2 separate regions of the Homo sapiens genome follow, and region 2 is linked to region 1. Evidence: promoter capture Hi-C in 16 types of primary human blood cells and fetal thymus (Javierre and others, 2016). All regions are on one chromosome and are shown on one strand. Each heading gives the region's core, a stretch centred on a gene start or on the middle of the fragment in contact. The rest is flanking DNA. Distances are from core to core; before and after follow the strand shown.

Region 1 (3,502 bases), core at 893-3,392:
TTTACTTGTTTCCATCCTGGTGATTATGCACTTGAAGAATGTGTGGAACTTGAATAACATGACTAAAAAAGTCCATGTGGTAAAGACCAGGGATACATCTCTTGTCCAATAGCTTAGGACTATTAATGTGCTACAGCAAGGGAGACCACATGGCTGAGGACCATGGGGCATCCTCCCAAACAAAGGAGGAGAAATGTTATTATAAAATGTTGAGGAATGGTGGGGTAAAATTACGTGACATAGTGTTTTCATAGGCTCAAGAAAAACAGGGCTGTGTATAAAAAATAATTAACACCAGACCTGAGCTGTGAAACAGACTTATGGTCCTCTTTCACTGGAAACTGTATAGTTGAGACAAATGGGGAATGTTGTGTCTGCAAGTCACTTGTCTGAAATTCTGTACCTGGGTTGGGTACTGAGGTTGCTTCTCTGTCCAGATGACTTAGATCCTGTCTAGGCAAGAGTGAAATGTTTCCTTCTTACTGATGTGGCTTGGAAGAGCAAGGTTTCTAACAGCCTATAATTTTAGAAAACAGTATTTCTTAGTACTGTGTTCTTTTGTTAACAAAAGCAGTGGATTTACAGACATATTTCTCTTTTTAGTTTGGCATCTCTGTATACATTCCAAAACAAAGAACAGAATGCTAAACCATGTATCAAGTGAGTACTTATTTTATTTCACTAAAGGGAATAAAACTTTTTAATAACTACTGCTACATGTTATCTATTTTGAGTGACTCCGAGTTGGAAAAAGACTGGGAGACATCACCAGTGTTTCTACTCCACAGAAGACCTGTGGTATTGCTAAATATTTGCCACTCTTTGATCCGTACGACTTTGGAGGAATTCATTTTGTAAATCTGGTCTTCCAAAAACTGTGATGGACTATGATGGATCATAGACTCAAAGGACTTCAAAGATCAGGGATATGATAGACCAAAGGGTGTATTTTTAAAAAGAGAAAACAAAACAAAACACACCTCAGAGGTAAATTTGCACTGAAGACCATCAGCATTCCTTGGACAATGTTATCTTTAATCTACCTTCCAACTCTAAATTTATTTTCTGTATTCCTATTCATCTTTGCTATGGCTGGAAAAGACAAAGCTATTTTATTGGTCACCAGCTAAACTAATTCCCCTTGTCTTTTTCATAATGCCACCTTCCCACCTCATAAACAAACAAAACCCTCAGCCAACAAACTAAAGAAGCTGTGACAGAAAGATAATTGATTCCTTTGTAGATATTGTCCATAGATTTTTAAGTATGTAATACAAAGTGCATATGTCAAAGCAAGAAAGCAAGAAATAGCCCAATTTCAATTTTATTTCTAGGTCAATAATCAGGGAAGGGCATTCAGAAAGGCACAGAATGAATGAAATCCCCATTTAGTTTGACCTTATTGTTCCCAGAAAAGTTCTTTCCCTTTAATTGCTTGATTTATCTTTGTCTTGCCTTACTAAAAGTTATGATTACTATGTGATAGGAAACTATTTGAAAGCTATTTTTCTTTCCTTTCCCCCTCCACCCCCAAATAGTACAGTACCATCTACATAATAAGTGTCTCATAAGTGTTAATGAGTTATAAACCAACTCAGATTACTAAAATAAAATCAGTCTAGCAGCTTTGGTGATGATTTTCTTATAAACAAGGTTAGGCACTGTGTCATTAAACACTGGGCCATTCTTTCCATAGCAGAATCAATACACATCTGCTCTTATGAGCCATTTTGGTTTTTAAGAAATTCTTGCTTGATCTCAATGCCAATCAGAAACCCAGCCTGTGACTCATGAACATTCCAGTCCCATGCTTAAGTCACGGATGGCAGCGAACAAGAGGAAAGTGTGATGGTGGCTGGATTCTTCAAACTTGCACCTTCTCACATGGCATGGCCTGGAAGGACTAGCTGATAGATGAGCAATTGTTCTGATGATATACATGACCAGGTATTCCGTTCTAGGGAAAAAGTAGACAGGTAGAAAACAAAGCATTCTTTAGTGATTTAGGGATCGCTGCCTCAGCAGTTAAATCCAGAGTTCTCATTTCAACGGGCAGCTACAACTCCAGGAAATGACCTCATGTCCTGGGGGTCATCAGCATCCAGCTAGGATATATAAAGGGCCCAGAGTGGAACGAGGACATTCACACCTGAGAACATCCAGCTCCTCTCAACAGCCCAACCCACACCAGCCTCAGACACCACCATGACCGGCTCCTGCTGCGGCTCCACCTTGTCCTCCCTGAGCTACGGGGGAGGCTGCTGCCAGCCCTGCTGCTGCCGCGACCCCTGCTGCTGCCGCCCCGTGACCTGCCAGACCACCGTGTGCCGCCCCGTGACCTGCGTGCCCCGCTGCACGCGCCCCATCTGCGAGCCCTGCCGCCGCCCGGTGTGCTGCGACCCCTGCTCCCTGCAGGAAGGCTGCTGCCGCCCCATCACCTGCTGCCCCTCGTCGTGCACGGCTGTGGTGTGCAGGCCCTGCTGCTGGGCCACCACCTGCTGCCAGCCTGTGTCTGTGCAGTCCCCCTGCTGCCGGCCTCCCTGCGGCCAGCCGACCCCTTGCAGCACCACCTGCAGGACCTCCTCCTGCTGAGACCCCACCTCTCCTCTCAACGCACGAAACATTCCCAGGTGCACAGAAGCTTGTGCAGACTCTTCTACCCCTTCTGGATCAGATGAGAGACTCCACCTTTGCAGCCTAGCTGATCCTCAAGCACGAATTCAACAATAACATCCTATCTATTTCCCCACATAATTATGCAGCTAATCCTGGCCCTCTCTGACAATCTTGAGAAAAATTCCAGCTTTCATCATTCGAATTCCTGGCTTGAAAAAAAAAACGAGTAAATAAAAATCAAAGCTCCTCTTGAATAGAACTCTGTCCCACTGACTCATCACCCTTTTTTCTACTGTTTCAAGGTTCTCAGATGAGATTTTTTTCTTCCAGGATAATACTATTTGTATGCTGTATTTTTGCACTGTAAAAAAAAATAAAATTATATTTCTGGGGAAGCAAACATTTCTTTTTATTTATTGTTTATTGCTCTTCAAAAGCTCATATTTAGCTTACATTACAGCATGCAGAACCAGAAGAACGAAAGGAGAGATTTTCTAAGGGCCATTTTTGAGCTTTAGAATAGGAACAACTCAGGTGGAAGGTCTATAATTTTAATAGCATTTCAAATAAATCTGATCATCTCATGATTCACCTTCATATTTCGAGTCGCAGGTTTTATGGTGATGCTGACGAAATGGTGAGACTACAGTAGGTCTCTGTAAACATAAACTTGACTTATGAATAATTCACACACATGATAAGGGGGAGGAAGTCTAAGCTAAGTTATAGCCCTATTTGTTCACCAATGTAGGAAACTGTACGGTAATTGATGTCAAACAAGACCTGGGAATCCCTAGCCACTGAACATCCTATGCTGGAGGAACCACTATCCCATCTTCTCCATGGTTCCCGTCAGCACCACCATGGCCAGTTCTACTTCCAGTGG
Region 2 (3,581 bases), core at 253-2,752, 570 kb before region 1:
AGAAGAACCACAAGCAGGTGAGGTCAGCTCAGGGAACGCAGCAGAAATTCACCTGGAAGCAAGCGAGGCTGGGGCCCAGAACCTCCCTGGGCTGGGCTGTGCTTTCAGTCCAGTTCCCGTCTTTTATGGATGACTAGCCCTGACCCTCAGAGGACACTGCGTGAGGCCTGGAGGAGCCCCTCGTCCCAAATAGACTTCATTTGTCCCTTGAGGCTCAGCTCACTGCAGTTAACTAACTAATGAGTAACTCAGTTTAAGAACACACAATGCTAGTTATAATTAACACAATGCTTGTTATAATTAATTATAATAGTGATAGTCATTAAAACAAGGAACTTCTGCCCAGCACTACAAGTGACTCACAGCCATTATCTCAGCTGATACAACAGCTGGGAGAAAGATACTCTTACTTCCTTTTGACCTTTGAAGAAACGGAGGCTCAGAGAGGTTAAGGGATTTATCTATGGCTGCACAGGGACCCTCCTTCAGGTCTGTTGGACTCGTATCCACCCCACCTCTCTGCCCCCTCTCCTGCCTCTCCTTTCCAGAAGGCTCTAGGTCGCAGGGACTCCAAAGCTCAACCCAAGGATAGAGATCCAAGGTCCTGTGGGGCAGTCAGGAGGCCTTACATGCCCTGTCCTGTGTCTTCCTTCTCAGCCGAGCTCTGTGCTGCTCTGAGCTGGGGGAGCCTACTCCCCGAGAAGCAGGACACCCGGAAGGTGTTTCCCCCTGGCTTTGAGGCTGGTTATACAATTGCTTTCCTCCAGCAGATTAACATTTGCTAACGGGGCCTGGCGCAGTGACACAGCGTAGGGTTGCTTTCTGCATGCCTGTGCTGTGGGCTTGGTGGTGGGGGCAAGGCAGTGGTGGGGGCAAGGTCAGGGCAGTGAGTGAGGTCGCCCGTGGTCATCCTCCACCGTGCTGGGGGGTTGTCATCTCTCGGGGCTTAGCACTTGTTGGGGATGGGTGAATTCCAGTCCCGCGTCACGGTGTGTGTTGGGGGAGGTTGCTAATATTCACAGCCCTGTATGTTTGAGAAATGACAACATCCACCTCCACCTTCAGGGTGAGGAGCTGTTGGCCTATCTGTGTCTGTCTGTCTGTCATCTGTACCTGTCTCTCCGAGGGAAAGAAGGCAGGCCCCAGGGTCTTTCTCCAGGATGGCCTTGGGTGAGCTTCTGCTGTCCTCTCTGCCCAGGAAATGAACGTCCTTTGAGGTCAGGTGGATGAGGATGTCAGTGTGAAGATGGACACTGTGCCTGGAGTGAACCTGAGCTGCATCCTGAATGAGATGCGTGACCAGGACAAGACATTGGTGGAGAAGAGCTGCAAGGATGCCGAGGGCTGGTTCTTCAGCATGGTGGGTGGCCGTGCGTAAGCAGGTGTGTACACGTGTGGGCACATGTGCTGCATGCTGGTGCAGCTGGAGCACTGGCAGATCCACAGGCTGTCCCAGTTGGAAGGACTTTTGGAAACCAGTTGGACCAGCCCCTCATGTTTTAGATGTAAAACGTGAGGCTCAGAGAGGACTCAAGCTCACACAGCCCTTCACTGTGGCCTGCAAAATAGATCCAGGTCTCTACAAGTCTGGTCTTGGGTTTCCACCACAGCTGTTTACAGGATGTGCGTATTTGAATACATATGTATACCCTTGGCAAGCACAGGCTGAGTATCTCCGGTATCCTAGGGACAGCAACAGGCGCAAAAGAATAACACCCAGTGCCTGTCTTTGAGGTGCTGCAGTTCAGTAGGAAAAAGAAATGCAAATGACCGCAGAGCAGGCTGAATTCCTCCAAGTTCCAATGTGGGTGCAGAGGCTCTCTGTGTGCAGGTGCCTTTGGGGCCCCATAGAGGCCAGGGAGGGGCTAGGGGATGGTTCTGGGAGGTGAGGGTTCAGGAGCAGCCCTTTCCTGTGCCCCGCTTCTGAAAGTCTCCATAAACCCCTGTGGCCCACTCTGCCTTCCAGAAAGAGGGGCTGAACTGCGAGGTGGCCACCAACACAGAGGCCCTGCAGAGTGGCTGGATAGAGATATGGAGCTCTACGTCTCTGTGCAGAACCTGAGCCGTCCCAGCTCAGCAAGGTAGGGTCTCTGTCCCCTCCCCACCCTGTACCTGTCACCCCAGGGTGAGCCCAGCCTTGTAGACCCCTGCTTGGGGAACCAGAGTCCCCACCCAGCCTGTCCCTTCACACTCAGTGGCTGGGTGCACTACCACCTCATTGTGCTGGCAGCACCCACAGCCCCATACAGGAGGGGCTCCTCTCTAGTGCTCTGCCATGGGGAAGGGTCCCAGGTCCAGCTCATCACACCACCTATCTCTTGGCCCACAGAAAGCATCGCTGGAGGGCAGCCTGGTGGAGATGGAGGTGTGTTACAGGACCCTGCCGGCCCAGCTGCAGGGGCTTAACAGAAGCATGGAGCAGCAGCTGTGCGAGCTCTGCTGCGACACGGAGCACCAGGACCACAAGCACAGGTCCTTCTGGACGTGAAGACGTGGCTGGAGCAGGAGATCGCCACCTACCGCCGCTTGCTGGAGGTTGAGGACGCCCAGTGAGTGTGTACCAGGGTGCCTGTTGGGGTGGGCTGGGGGCCCGCTTCACCCAGGGAGAAGTTGGTGTCTGAGCACCAGCGAAATTCAGGAGGTGTGAATGTCGGAACCTGTTGGGGTTTGCAGGAGGTGATACTGACGATGCAGGCTGGAGTCTGGCTGAGGAGCCTTGAATGCCAAGTTAAAGCGTCTGGACTAGATCACGTAGGCAATGGGGAGCCATGGAGGGATTTGGAGCAGGAGAGTGAAATGAACATCAAGAGATTTTAGAACATTCACTCTGGCTGCAGAGGGAGAAATGGATCAGAGGGGTCAGGGCGGGGCCAGAGAGATGTGTCAGGGGGCTGGAGCAGGGAGTCTGGCCAGAGAAGTCCCGTGCGGTGGTGGGTAGTGGGGCAGGGGAAGGAAGGTGGTGCACGCAGAAGAGAGGTTATAGCTCAAAACAGCGGGACTGGATGCCTGGATCTCGGGGTAAGCATGGCTCACAGTCAGGACTCAGTAAGTGTCGGGAGAACACATGAAGGAGCAGGCATTGATGGCCCTGGGTTTCTGGTTCTGATGACTGTGTGAGTGGTGAAGAGCAAGGTGGGTGGTGGTTGGGTTTGCAGTTGGGAAGGGTGATCAGGCCTTCAGCTGAGAGTGTCCCGGAGTCTCCATGCTTAGTCACACGTTGCAGCTTTTTGCTCCCCGGAAATGGTGAAGTCCATCTATAGTCTAACAACAGTCTCTCCTGCTTTAATTGGGTCTATTTGTTGGGCCCTCTGGGTTATGGAAAAACCACTTGCTCAGCTTCTCCTTGTAAATTCCTGGTGAGTAGCCACAGAGTGCCGCCAGACCTACTGCTGTGCTGTTTCTTTTTCTTCTTCCTGCTGTGCTGAACCCCTGCCCTTTCATTCTTGGGCCTGCGCTAATTTCTGTGCATTCCCAACTGTGATTTTTCACCAATTTAGGGGAACCTCCTCTGCCAGGGCCTACTTCTCCCCAGCAGTGCTTGCAGGTGCCTGGGCTGGCTGGCATCCCTGGGCTGATGGGTG

The links. Contacts are between HindIII fragments. The CHiCAGO score rates a contact against its expected background, and 5 or more counts as called.
Region 2: a fragment that was not itself captured here is called in contact with the fragment with the promoter of KRTAP2-3 in region 1 in 2 of 17 cell types (total CD8 T cells and naive CD4 T cells); the score reaches 6.7 in total CD8 T cells.

What each region holds. Positions count from the first base shown.
Region 1 is chr17:41,058,754-41,062,255 of GRCh38, reverse strand. KRTAP2-3 (keratin associated protein 2-3) reads left to right here and starts at 2,142. Exons shown (of 1, transcript NM_001165252.2): 1 at 2,142-3,016. The coding sequence starts at 2,206. The coding sequence ends at 2,592. RefSeq lists enhancers at 1,823-2,397, 2,398-2,972. The HindIII fragment of the contact is 5,271 bases long and covers 1-2,643 here.
Region 2 is chr17:41,626,855-41,630,435 of GRCh38, reverse strand. It overlaps the pseudogene KRT42P. Among named protein-coding and RNA genes, the nearest start is that of KRT17, 4.1 kb to the right of the region's middle. The HindIII fragment of the contact is 5,188 bases long and covers 1-3,581 here.